Regions from separate parts of the Homo sapiens genome. Here regions 1 and 3 are each linked to region 2. Evidence: promoter capture Hi-C in 16 types of primary human blood cells and fetal thymus (Javierre and others, 2016). All regions are on one chromosome and are shown on one strand. Each heading gives the region's core, a stretch centred on a gene start or on the middle of the fragment in contact. The rest is flanking DNA. Distances are from core to core; before and after follow the strand shown.

Region 1 (4,460 bases), core at 689-3,188, 600 kb before region 2:
ACTGGCTGATGAAATCCCAAGCGTAGGTAGTATGCTACATGAGGGGTGAGTTTTTTGCTAACACCACAAAGGTCTCTGGCCCAATGAGTGGAGTTTGATAGGAGTTCTTGTGACAAGTCTAATGTTATTGCATGCCAGTTTTGAGGAGAGATGAAAACATTTGAAAAGCAGTGTGTTTTTTTTCTACGTTTGTCTGTATTTCTTACTCAGGCCTCTCAGGCATTACTTGGCCTTTCTGTTTTCACACCAACTTGGTGAGTTCTACTATAAGATTCTAAAAAGATGGGTAGTGCGTGGTTCAAATTGGTTCATTTGTAACTGGAAAAAATTTATAATTAAAAAAATAAAATATGTTTAAAAAAGCCATAATGATGAAACTTTCAATTAGCAATGACTTTGAAACATAGTACTATGATTGAGTTAATGGCTATCTTATTTAACACATGCTTATTTTTTAAGCAACTCTTTGGTAAAATAAACTATAGCTGGCATTCTCTGTCATAAAAGATAAAGCAGTTATATCCTTCAATCAGGGAATTTAATATTTGGTAGTGCAGATTTAAAATGTATGTGACCCAGGTAATACAAGATAGACCAATAAATTTTAAGAAAGGTATAATAAAGTGTACACAAATTCAGAATCTTACTTGCCCATAAATTAACTTGCTATTGTCTTAGTTCCGTTTATTTTGTGCTCCAAGGCCATGTTCATTTGAATGATTTATGTAGAGATCCACTTTGCTTTTAGTTGTTCATTTGTCCTTGGATTATATTTCTTTAATTTTGGTATATTTCTCCTCTCTTGCCCCTGGCCCTGGTTCTTATCAGTGTTTGCTTTATTTTGCCATAAACAAGAACATTCTGTTTTTGTTTTTCACAGTCAATTGCAGTTGTTCATTTCTTCTTAGAATATTATCTTTAACACTCACCTTACCCACACTAATTACACCCTTACCTAGTGTTGTCCACAGGTAATTATCTTCAGATGTGTGCTTCAGTTTCCTCATCTACATACATGGAGAAAATAGTAATATCTACCTCTAAGGCCTATCATGACAATAAATGAGTTAATACATGCAAAGCACCTGGAATAGTGCCTGGAACACAGCACTTTATAAATCTTTACCATTATTATAATTAAAACTTGAGGCACACAATTTTTATATGTATCCATATGCGTTTATATGTTTATAAATGTGTATCATATATATTTTTTTCTTGATGTGTTTTAAGCATCAGTTTTCACTTCAAGCTTTTTCTGCCTTTTTCTTCCCCAGCCTCCTACAGGTAAAAAGGAAATAGACAATATTGCAGTGTTCACTGGGCAGAGTTGGGTAGAGTGTAGTAGTTAAAAGAGCTGGCTGCACCCATTAACTCGCATGGCACATGTATACATATGTAACAAACCTGCACGTTGTGCACGTGTACCCTAAAACTTAAAGTATAATAATAATAATAAAATAAATAAATAAATAAATAAATGGGAAGCCTCTGACTGTTAAAAAAAAAAGAGCTGGCTATGGATATGGCCATATATAGATAACTAAATATACTGATATACTGAGATTTCCACTTAGTAAACAGTAATTTTGGGCATGTTATATAATATTGGAGGTTTAGTTTCTTCATGTGTAAAATAAAGATAATGATTGTGCATAATTTATGTGATTGTTGGAAGCATTATATGAAATATTGCATGTAAAAGCTTATTTATTTAATATTTATTCACTGCCTGTTCTGTGAACCTAGCATGTAAAAGCTTTTAGCCAAATTCCTGGCACATATTTATGTCTTCAAGCATTATTTATCATCATCAACATTATTGCTATTGTTATTTCTGCTAGTAGCACAGTACTATGTTGTAGCACAATGTTAGGCATATTGTACCTGTGTGATAATATTTATTGAATTTAAACCGTTGGCCAATGTCAGTAGTGCATTCTACACCAGTAAATTCTCTGTGTGTTAAGGCAAGCCTCCACACATCTTCAGACAACATATCTTTACACTAAGGACTAAGGAGTGGCCCACATTTCTTGCCGGCAGGCCTGGGTTAACCATAGAATTTAAAAGCTGTCAATATGTAATACTCTGTATTAGTACAGATAAACTAGTGATAAGCTTAACACAGATAAGCTATGAACTCTTTCTGCAAATAACCTGCTACTCTGGAATTCTTGTGGTATTAAATGACTCTTATTAGAAACCATGTGATTTTAAATTAGATACGGGCACATCTAATTTAGGAAATGTCTTCTCTTCAATTTATATTTACCACCCTAACCACAGATGGTCTTAAACCAAAGCTATCCCAGGGTGTTTGCTGCTTTTTCTTTTCCTCCTTCCCTCCTTCGTTTTTCTTTTCTACCTTTCCTCCTTTTTCCTCCCCTTCCCTCCTTTCCCTCCCTCCCTGCCTCCTTTCCTTCGTTCCTTCCTTCTTTCCTTCCTTCCTTCCTTCCGTCTTTCCCCACTTTTATATACGATACCTCCAAGACTTGAATTACTGTGCTCTGACATGTATAATTAGCAGAGTGAGTATGATAGCTTTGTGACCAGGGAGTAGTTTACTAATCAGTCAGAATGCATGCTATAATTTTGAAAAATTTGAAATAATCCACTTTTATATAAGCATTTCTTTTTGCTGTTTCTTAAAGAACCAACAATTCCATACTCATATTTCTGTACTTTTTCTTTCCTGACTTCAAAACCTCTTTTATGAAGGTAAGAAGAAAGGATGGTCTTAGGAAGAAAGGAAAAGAAGAAAAATAAATATTAAATTAGTATTTAAAATTAAGGTGTAAAGTCTTAGATGATTTTATAAATTGTATGACTTATTCTTTACAATTACTCTTTTAAATGTAAGTAATTTGCTCAGAGTCACATAGCTGGTAGGCAGTATTACTGAGATTTGAGCCCAACTCCATTTGAATCTCACACTCATGCCACTTTTACTATCCCATTGGCTTTTGAACTTTGCTGCAAGGAGATAGGAAGTCTTTAGTAACTGTGACTGAGAGCTAGTGAATAACCAAGTGGAGGACTGGTCCTCCTTTCCCTCTATTTTAACCAGAGCAGCTCCACTTATATCTGTTTCATTCATTATGGCTTTTTGTACAGGATTTTTTGTACTGTATTTTATTTAAAAATTTTTAACAGACACATAATAATTGTACATATTTATGGGGTACATTGTGATATAGAATTTTTTAAAAAGAATTCTATTACTAGCATAAAGTTTGAAAGTTTCTATGCCACACTATGCTAAAACTTCTGAGAATGCACTGCCGAATTATCACAGAACATAGCTTCTGAGGTTAATAATGAGGAAAGTGGAAAATCTAGGAGGCCAATTTGAAATTTGGTCATTCTGAGCTGAGGCAAAATGTCATAAATTCCCAGATCCCCAGCCCTGAGTGGTGAAAACATGTTTGTTAAGTGTTTTTTTTTCAACTGAGGTATGAATTACTCAAATAATAGAAAATCGGTATGTGCACCAAAGGATGAAAATTAAAGTTACCCTTTTAATGTAAATTAGGCACAATAGGACGTGCCTTTGTCAATTACATTTTTTATAATTGACCACAGAGCATGGTGAAGCATGAGACACACTCATCATGCATCACAGTCTAGAAATAAAAAGCCCTCTTTCTCTCTCATGTTCCTCATCAAATATATGTAACATTAGTTATGGGATTGAAATTTCTTTTATTCAGAGAAATTGAAGAGAGCCATAATAAAAGGAAAGAATAAGACAACACGAGTCCAACAGAGCACGTGACACTGGGAATGCTAATGAATCCTTTTAAATCAGTGCTTTTTGAACTGCAGGATATGCTCAGCAATGAGTTGTAATCAACAGTAAAAAATAAAATGTAACAGAATAGAATATTTATTTCATCAAAATTTTTTCTCAGTTATATGTGTGAGAGAAAGAGACAGAGACACAAACAAGGTTTCAGTGTAGTGTGTATTTCTTACTTTGGATTATTGCAAAAGGATTTGAATGCCATTGTCTTCATAGGTTTAGACCTTAGCTCTCTTATATATGAAATAGGGATAATAACACAGCTCCTATTTACCTTATAGAGTTAACGTAAATATCAGCATTACTTATGTGAGGTTATTCAGGAAACTTCAGCAAAGTGCTTTAAAGTGTTGTTGAAAGTAAGGATGAGTCATGTGTTTTACAAAATAAAATAACACCATTTTCTGTGGCTCACATTCACATAAATCTCTCTAGTAATGTATTTGAGGTCAGACTATTACATGAAATTCCTAAACAATTCAAAGTTAAGTTCCTATTTTCTTTTTGCTACATCAAGTTAGATAAATATTTGGCATTATCTTTCTATTATTGCTGTTAATACTTAGATGAAAATAATTGGATTGATAAAGCAATATTTTATTTATAGCTTCTAGGAGACTTCTTCTAAGAAGAATCAAATCGTGAGTTTGCCCTT
Region 2 (4,589 bases), core at 1,651-4,150:
CAGTAACTCATTACACATTACTCATACACATTTTGGATAGATTAAACTTTTGTAACTGTTCTTTGTAGAGAACTTTGTAAAAGATTAATACAATTTATACAAGGTGTTTGCAATAATAGAAAAGATGCATATTTCCTCCTTATATAGAAAAATGGCATTTAATATTAGTTAACACCAACATTGCAACACCTTTCAAATCCAGTTTCTTGGGCAAATTATCACCACAGGAATCACAGGGAGCTAGCAATCTGTCCACTTATATGGGCTGCAGCTTCTAGGTATGAGTATTATTGAAGCATTGTTATAGATTATAGAAATTCATGTCTTTATTACCCAGATAAGTGCAAAACCCCATCAAGAACTCTATGAACAAGGGTCTTTACTGTTCTGTGATTAATATAATTGCCAATTTCTGCAACTTATAGACTCATTTGCTATCAAGATCTTAAACCATTTATGGAATCATTTGAGAAAGAACTTAACGTTTGTGACATGACTGAGATTTTTAGAGGGTTTATCCTTATAATTTCCTGTTTCATGTAAGACAATAAAGCGCTTAAGAGTCCCACTTTTCCTTAAGAGAGGAAGACCTAAGTATTGATTCTAACTATAAAGCTAAGTGTGTGATGATGATCATCAAGTAAATGATACAACCTGTAGGTTACCTAGAACTCTCCCAAAACGAAATAAACAATTCCAGTAGGTAAGTGCTAGTTCTCCGTGTAGTCCAGAAACAATCTTTGTTCTAAACTATAAAGATAAAGCACTTACATCAAGTTTTTAAATAAAGTTATGAAAATTAAATAAAAAAAACTAAGCAAATGTGAGGCAAAGAACCTTTTCAAAAGTGGGGAAATGTATCCTATGTATAGACAACAGGTGATATCACTACTTCCCAGTAATAGCTACACAGTTTATGTATTTGGACTGCATTATCATCACTAAATCATTTCTAAAGCAAAACTTTTAAAATCATCTACTTTTCTTCTTCAATGTGCATTACTGCGTCTACTCTATTAACGACTTGTAAATATTTTCATCTTAGACAACGAATTCTTGAGAAGTACTGAATTTTACTCATTTTTGTGTTTGGTTCATTTCGCCCACCACAACCACTACAGACTCCCATATCCACAGTTCATAAATTAGAAAGACAATCAGATGTTTGCTGAATACTTACTAATTAAGATCATGTATTTTAATAACTGAGTTAACTAATTAAAAGCATTTTCCTTTACTCACTAACACCATACAATCCTATGTTCCCATTACTTCTGGATTTCTCAAAAAAAAAAAAAAAAAAGGCCCAGGGAGATTTTTTAGCATTTAGTTTAAGGATGGAACATTAAACTGCTATAACCTAATCAAAGAACTACTTTAGGATAAGGGCAGTATCTTAAAAGTATTCCCACCCATTCCACTTTCCCAGCTTGTCCCTAACCTAGGGCAGTTCATTGAAGCATGAAGACTCTCCTGATGCAGAAACCAGAAAAATTAAGAAAAAAGGATTACACGCCTAATGTAACTTGACTCTAGAGCCCACTTAACAACCCCCGACAAAAAAACCCCAAATCAATTAGGCACACAGAAGAGATGTGTGAGACACAGAGCAGCGACCGTGTCATATTTTTAACTATAATCTTTCCAAGACTATTATGTTAATCTTAGGGTTGAAAAAGATCTTAAAGCAGCATTTAATCTAGACCACTCTCCAGAGAGACACTGATCTAGGACCTACATTAATATCTCTAGGGCTTGGGAACTTAGTATTACTATCTTTCCATTACAGCAACGTCAGTTCTCTCTACATTTCACTGAAATTTATCCCTCCAACTCTCTGTAACTTGCATTCATTTGTTTCTGACTGTACCCTCTGGGAGCTACACACGGTTTTTCTAACATAATAGCACCCAGGATTTCTTTGCCAGCCTAAGTCACACAGTCATCTTTCCAAACTAAGTATTCCTTTTTCCAAGTACTATGTTTTTCCAAAATAAGTATTCGAGGAACAAAACGGGTAATTCACTTTGCCTATTTAACAGGAACAGCCAGAAGTTATTTGCAGATATTTCTCAAGATTAATAACCTGCCAGTGCCACTTCCTAAACTTGCTCACTTACCACACCACCAGTGTTGATCGCGGCATTAGGGGTTTTCAAATTTTAGCCTAACAGAAATGGTTGTCCTGAAAATACGCGTTACATCCGCATGATCCTACCAGGAAATAAACCTAGGAGCTTGCAACTCAGAAAGGGCCCCTCTCAGCCCAAGACAGCTAAACGGAAAGTCAAGCGTGAAATCCGCATCAAAGAAAAACCCTACTGAGATGAAGTGCTAGGCCATATGGAGACTGAGGACGAAAGGGCAGGCCTGGTCTCCGCCAGAGTCTAAGTGTCTCGGTGGGGGCCACCGGCTCCTCGCGAGGCCAGCTAACCTCCCCAACCCCCACCCCCCACCCCCAACGACGACCACTGCTCCATCACCCCACTCCCGGGCCCCAGCCTCGCCTCGGCCCGTCATCTTTCTCCGCACTAACCTTTCTCCTCCCGACTGTCAGCCGCCATGGCTCCCCTTCGGTTTCCGCCGCTGCCACCGCCGCCGCCGCTTAGACGCGACTCGCGCGGGCGCCGCAGCCGCGGCAGAAGCACGGGCCCGTCCGTCAGTCCGTCTGCCCGGATACGCGCGTCGCACTTGGCCTCTTAACACTCAGCCTTCTCGACTCTTCCCGCTTTTTCCCTTTCTCCCTTCCTTTCACTCCAGCATCCAGCGGCCTAGGCCCAGCCTTCTCGTTAGGGCTCAGACTCGGGCTAGGTATGGGGGAGGGAAGGGAAACAGATGGCGACGGCGGGCGGCGCTAAAATGGAGCCTGCTTCCTGCGCGAAACAATCCCGCTCCCGAAATGCCCTGCGCTGTTTACGCTTCGTTCCTCTCTGGGAACGTCACAGTGCGGAGAGGGGCGGGGAGGCGGGGACGTGCAAAGGAACGTGACGTGACGTCAGCGCGTCGCCCTGCCGCCCTCAGCCCACTGGTACCTGGAAGGAGTCTTATTCAGGGATTAGGTTACCCAGGTTGTTCATGGAGTTCCCGCTGTACGGCCTATAACTGGATGGCGCAATTTTCCCACCTGAAACTCTTAGTGCAGGGCCTAACAGGCCTTCTTAGCTAGAGTCGCTCTAAAGGACTCCTGATTCAGTTCGGGTAATCGGAGTCTTATTTAGGACAAGTCTGGGTGAATCCCTTATGTTTACCAGATGTACTTTCTTAGTTGGAGTTCCACTCTTACCCAAAGGCAGTGCAGCATGCAACCAGCTTGTTTGTAGTCACAAAAGCCTGCTAGTTTTTGTTTGTTTTGAGACGGAGTCTCGCTCTGTCGCTAGGTTGGAGTGCAGCAGCGCGATCTCGGCTCACCGCAACCTCCGCCTCCCAGGTTCAAGCGATTCTCCTGGCTCTGCCTCCTGAGTAGCTGGGACTACAGGCGCCCGCCACCACGCCCAGTTAATTTTTTTATTTTTAGTAGAGACGGGATTTCACCATGTTGGCCAGGATGAAGTGCTGGGATTACAGGCGTGAGCTACCACGCCCGGCCTAGTTTTGTTTTTAATTGGGGAAAGAATTGTATCATAATAGGTCTTTGTAATTAATAACTAATTTAAACATGTTATCAAGGCCCTGGGGCACAAAATTGATTTAAGCAGACCATCGAGGAATCGAAACTACAGAATAAATGACCAGTAGATACATAACTACATAGTGTGGTAAAATCTGCAAGAGAAACTTGCTTAAGATTCATTGTCCAACGGAAACAATCTAATTTTGCTTCCTTGAACTATAACTGAGTTATAAGGGAAAGAAAAATCTGAAAAAGGTAACTAAGTAACTTCGTGATATGAAGACAAACTGGCAAACTAACTGCATATTCAGGGAAAGACAAGTAGTCTAGAAGTCTAGAATGTGGTACCTCTTTTTTTTTGAGACGTGGTCTCACTGTGACACAGGCTGGAGTGCAGTGGTGTGATCATGGCTCACTGCAACCTTGGGCTCAAGTGATCCTCCCACCTTAACCTCCCAGGTAGCTGGAACTACAGGCATGCTCCACCACATCCGACACATTTTTTGCATTTTTTGTGGAGATATACCATCTCCGCAAGATGGCTAACACCTAGCCATCTTGCCCAGGCTAGTGTCTAAATCCTGGGCTCCAGCAATCCTCCCACCTCGGCCTCCCAAAGTGCGGGATTACAGGTGTGAAGCCACCAGGAGTGGCCCCATTTCTAGGACCTTAATTGAACACTAATTTGAATATACGAACACGCACACGCCACAAACACACACACACACACACATTAAATAATATCTGATGATCCTGAGGAATTGCTATTTGTATTTTTAGTTTTAATAAGTTTTGCTTTTTAAAGAATTTCTTATAATTTCATGATTCATATGAAAATATTTGCAGGCCAGATGCAGTGGCTCATACCTGTAATCCCAGCACTTCGGGAGGCCCAGGCGGGCGGATCACCTGTGGTCAGGAGTTTGAGACCAGCCTGACCAATATGGTGAAACCCCGTCTCTGCTAAAAATACAAAAAT
Region 3 (4,919 bases), core at 586-3,085, 670 kb before region 2:
TTTTTTTCTAAAATATAATTCCAGCTAATAAATGAGAAAAGAATGATAAAACATCATCACTGCCCCTAATGAAATAATGAATCTAGGCAATAATAATTAACAGCTAATAATAATCACAAAAAGAGAGACAACAGAATATTACTGTCTCCTGATGGGAGAACAGCTATGAAACAGTCTTGCCAAAAAGAATCAAATCTGAACTGGATTCTCTGGCTATAACTACCAGTTTACAGGAAATACACATGTAGAAATACCTGTGACAAATGACTAGTTTCTTCAACAAATAAATTGCAAGAAAAAACCTAGGCAAGGAAGGGAAATCTATAGATTAAAATAAACCAAGTTCAGTATACGAATTTTACTTGGATCCTGATTAGAATGATACAAGCTTTCAATAAAATGTCTTAAGACATTTGGGAAAATTTGAACTCTAACTAGACATTTGATGACTGTGGTAGACAGGCTTTTAAGATGGCCACAATGTTTCCTGCTTCATAGTATTTAGGCTTTCGTGTGATCTCCCACCTTGAGTGTGGCCTGGACCCACTTCTGAGATTAGGTTACAAAAGACTGACTTGTCTTGTTAACACACTCTCTTCTCCTGTCTTACTTGTTTACTCTGATGAAGCAAACTGCCACACTGTGAACTGCCCTATGGAGAAAGCCATACAAGCAAGGAATTGAGGGTGACCTTTGGTCAAGAGCCAGCAGGAACTGAGGTCCTCAGTTTAACAATACATGAAGAACTAAATCCTACCAAGAACCACATGAGCCAGCTTGGGAAGCAGATCCTTCCCCAGTCTAGCCTCAAGATGACTGCAGGCCCTGCTAATACCTTGACTGCAGCCTTGTAAGAGACTCCCAGAGAAACCCCAACCAGAGTCATGCCCGAATCCTGACTCACAGAAACTATGAGACAACAAATGTTGCTTAAGCTACAAATTTTGGGGTAAACTGTTTTATAGCAACATGTAAACTAATACAATGGTATTAAGAGCTTGTTACATTTTAGGTGTGAAAATTATATTGCTGCTTCAAAAGATATTCTTATCTTTTAAAGATACTACTAAAATATTTAAGGATGATATAATACAATGTCTGAAATTTACATCAAAATAATTTGGCAGTTGGGGGCAATAAGGAATGGGAAGAAGATATATGAAACAAATGTCCCCAAGAGTTGGTAACTGATGCTTTCTGATGGGTATGTGGGGTTTTGTTACACAATTCTTTCTTTGTATATTTTTTAAATTTCCATGATTTTTTTTAAAAAGTAGAGCATTAAAGACAATAATTAAAACAAAGTATAAACAATATTACCATAACAAATGAGCCAAAAAAAAAGGCTCATAACAATTTTTCTTACAGAGGACATTTACTTACCTTAATCCCTGCAAGAACAAGATTCTTTGCTAGAAAGGCAAAAGAAAAAGGAATAGCTCAATATTGGGAATACACACTAGATATGTCTTCACAGAGCTTAGTCACATATCTGACTGCATACTTTTAACTTCTTTTTTTACTACTTAATACAAGTTCCTTGTCTTAAAAAAGTTACAAAATACAGGTTAAAAGTGAAAAAATTAAAATGTGCATAATCACAACACCCAGAGATAATCACTCCTAAAATTTCAACGTATTCTTCCAGATATGTTTTTATGAATACAGTATATGTATGTGTGCTTATAATGAATTAATGGATATAGAGAATGATAATTAATGGCTATTAACATCACAAAAAGAAGCAATGAGTCATTATTGGTTCTTTGTGGAAGAATATAACATCACGAAATAGTCTTGACAAAGATTAAAAACTCAATCTGATCAACATTTTGGATCTAACTTCCTTTATAGGAAATATAAGGGGATGAAGTTAAGTTATTTAAACTATCTTCATTGCTCAAAAGTGTCAAAAATTAGGAATATAAATATTGCTTACCAATTTCCAAACCAAGACCACCCATCCCACTTAAGAAAACATGGGACTTGGCCATCTTCTGCATTGCTGTGTCTCCAAGAACGTACCTCTGTCGACTACACGGAAAACACAATAAAAAACAAAAAATTATTTCACTGAAATTATAATATCTCTTAAAGTTGTTTGCAAACTAAAAGCCTAGGAACTCAATCCGGCCCACAGACTTGTTATGAATGATTTGCACAGTGTTTAAACATTTCTGAATTAAATGCCAAATATATGACATATTTTGAAAAATCAGATAATTTGGCACCACAATCCATATTCCCTCAAGGCAATAGACAGATGGAGGTGAGTAAGAGTTGCCCTGTTTAGGCAGGAGGATTATGTGCTCCAGATTTGCCACAATCAATTCCTTCCTGTTCCTCTCATTTATTACCTCAGTGGCCACTATAAGCATTTGAGTTTGCCATTTCCACCTTAAAACTTTCACTATCAACAGGATTTCTGAGGCAACAACAACAAAAAAAATTTGGTTCTCTTCTTGGAGTTCAGATGTTATATAAAGGACCTTGTTAAGTTATGCATCCTAATAGCCACAAGGTAGTAACAGGATGGGAATTTCAAAAAATATACGTTAGTAATTTAAAAGTCTGATATAGTAATAAAGTCAATTGTAAGTGTTTATCTGAAAGAACAATGAGAAACTTGATGCTATCTTTGGAGATAATATAAATTCCAATGAATTCTTATGAGAAACATTTTAAAGATTAGTTCGATATAAATAAATAATTTCAGAACCCCTTGGGTTATAAGTATTTACTTTCAGAATTAACACATACATGTTTAATGCACATTTGTTTTAAAAATAAATATTTAATTTCCATTATTTCAGCTTTTCATATTCAACATAAAAGCCTGAAAAGGGATTTCTTATCTAGAGAGACAAAACTTTATAAACACAAGCTATCTTTATTTCCTTCCCTGTTTCATACAAAATATAATAAAACCTAAACTTTTCTTTTTAAATTGGTACTCAAGACTTTTGTTTTAGAAAGTAAAAACTATCCATTTACACATCAAATATTTATTGAAAATCTACTATAGTATGTACGAAAGTTCTTATATAGTCTTACCACCCTTATGCGTACCCAGAAATAATATACTTAGGTTTTACCTGATTTTAGACTTTGTATAGATGGAATCACTTTGAGTGTCTTTTATCTTGTTTCTTTTGAATGAAATTATTTATGAGATGGACTTATACTGATGTCTGCAACTGGTCATTAATATTCATTTATATTGTATTCTGACCATTCTTATAAACATCTCCTGGTACACACTTAAGAGTTGTTTCTCTGATACAAGCTTGTCCAACCCACGGTCCACAGGCTGCATGCGGCCCAGGACAGCTTTGAATGCGGCCCAATACAAATTCGTAAACTTTCTTAAAACATTATGAGATTTTTTTGCAATTTTTTTTTTTTTTTAGTTCATCAGCTATCATTACTGTTAGTGGATTCTATGTGTGGTCCAAGACAATTATTCTTCTTCCAATGTGGCCCAGGGAAGCAAAAAGATTGGACACCCCTGCTCTAATGTATATCCCCAGAGAGGAAATGCAGGATTTAAGAATATGTATACTTCAACTTCATTAGACAGTGCCAAACTGTTTTCCAAAATGGACGTACCAGGACAGTTGTGGTGGCTCACGCCTATAATCCCAGCACTTTGGGAGGCCTACATGGGTGGATTACTTGAGCTCAGGAGTTCAAGACCAGCCTGGGCAACACAGCAAAACCCCATCTCTATAAAAACTACAAAAATTAGCAGGATGAGGTGGTGGGTGCCTGCAGTTAAGTCCCAGCTACTCGGATGGCTGAGGCAGGAGAATTGCTTGAGCCAGGAGGTGGAGGTTGCAGTGAGCCAAGATCATGCCACTGCACTCCAGCTTGGGCGACGGGAATGAAATCCTGTTTCAAACAAAACAAAACAACCCCCTGCCCCCAGCCCAAAATCAAAGTGGATGCAGCAAGTTACCCTTCTTTTGGCAGTGTATCAAAGTCTCTGCAATTTCACAACCTGGCTGTGCAGGCTTGGTCTTTAGAAGGGCATGCTTACAGGGCTGGCCCTTGGTTGGCACTTGTAAACTTGGCTCTTGAAATATTTCCTACACTAATAAATCTAATTTTCTTTTTTTTCTAGTTACCTGAAATAAAACCCATTAATATTTAGATTTTAGTTTCTCAACTACTAATGTAAAATGTAACATTAAGAGCATCTCAAGTTTTGATAAGAGCACTTCATTATTTTCCCATTTTAATTATGATTCTTTTTTTATGTGTTAATCCAAAGTATATTTTGAAATTTCTAATTTTATGGGACATTTTTAAGTTATCGTTTGTATTAATTTCCCGCTTAAATGCAATGTGAATAGATATCACAATCTGTGTAACTCTTTAATATTTGAGAATTTCTTTGGTCAATTTTACAGTTGCATGTGTTCCTGAAAAGAATGTGGATTCTACAGCTGTTAAAGACACAAGATATGCATTAGGTTAATTTTAATAATCATGTTGATGAAATCTATACCTGTTTGGGTTTTTTGTCTGCTTGTTTTCTTGATTACTAAAAGCAACATTTCAAAAATCTTCCACTACAACCATAAATTTGTCTACTGTCTTTGTATCTCAGTACCTGAACTGTGCCTGGCATGTAATAATAACTGAGTTTTTACTATGCACCACATGTTGTTTTAAGTGTTTTACTTGTATTAACTCATTTATTCCTCACAAAAATACTATGAGATAATTTCTATTATTATTCTCATTTTTACAGATAGGAATACATAAGCACCTAGAATTAAGTAAGTAGTGGAGGTTAAGAGTCAATCCAGGCAGTCTAGCCTTAGCATCCATACTCTTAACTATTATGCCACAATGCATACAGATTAAGAAAGCCAAATCATTCCTCAAGGTTTATGAGAGAGAGAAAAAAACAA

The links. The method cuts DNA at HindIII sites, captures the fragments that hold promoters and counts their contacts. A CHiCAGO score of 5 or more calls a contact.
Region 1: a contact is called between a fragment that was not itself captured here and the fragment with the promoter of YTHDC1 in region 2, in 1 of 17 cell types (fetal thymus). The highest score is 5.3, in fetal thymus.
Region 3: a contact is called between a fragment that was not itself captured here and the fragment with the promoter of YTHDC1 in region 2, in 1 of 17 cell types (activated CD4 T cells). The highest score is 5.2, in activated CD4 T cells.

The regions. Positions count from the first base shown.
Region 1 is chr4:67,747,269-67,751,728 of GRCh38, forward strand. The region is part of intron 1 of GNRHR (gonadotropin releasing hormone receptor); the gene reads right to left. It overlaps LOC124900175 (small nucleolar RNA SNORA62/SNORA6 family), which reads left to right; the gene lies at 1-118. Among named protein-coding and RNA genes, the nearest start is that of GNRHR, 4.9 kb to the right of the region's middle. The HindIII fragment of the contact is 362 bases long and covers 1,758-2,119 here.
Region 2 is chr4:68,347,190-68,351,778 of GRCh38, forward strand. It overlaps YTHDC1 (YTH N6-methyladenosine RNA binding protein C1), which reads right to left and starts at 2,901. Exons shown (of 17, transcript NM_001031732.4): 1 at 2,537-2,901. The coding sequence starts at 2,564. RefSeq lists an enhancer at 2,270-2,849. The HindIII fragment of the contact is 7,711 bases long and covers 1-4,589 here.
Region 3 is chr4:67,680,180-67,685,098 of GRCh38, forward strand. UBA6 (ubiquitin like modifier activating enzyme 6) reads right to left here. Exons shown (of 33, transcript NM_018227.6): 3 at 1,940-2,034; 4 at 1,384-1,412. Among named protein-coding and RNA genes, the nearest start is that of UBA6, 19 kb to the right of the region's middle. The HindIII fragment of the contact is 2,898 bases long and covers 387-3,284 here.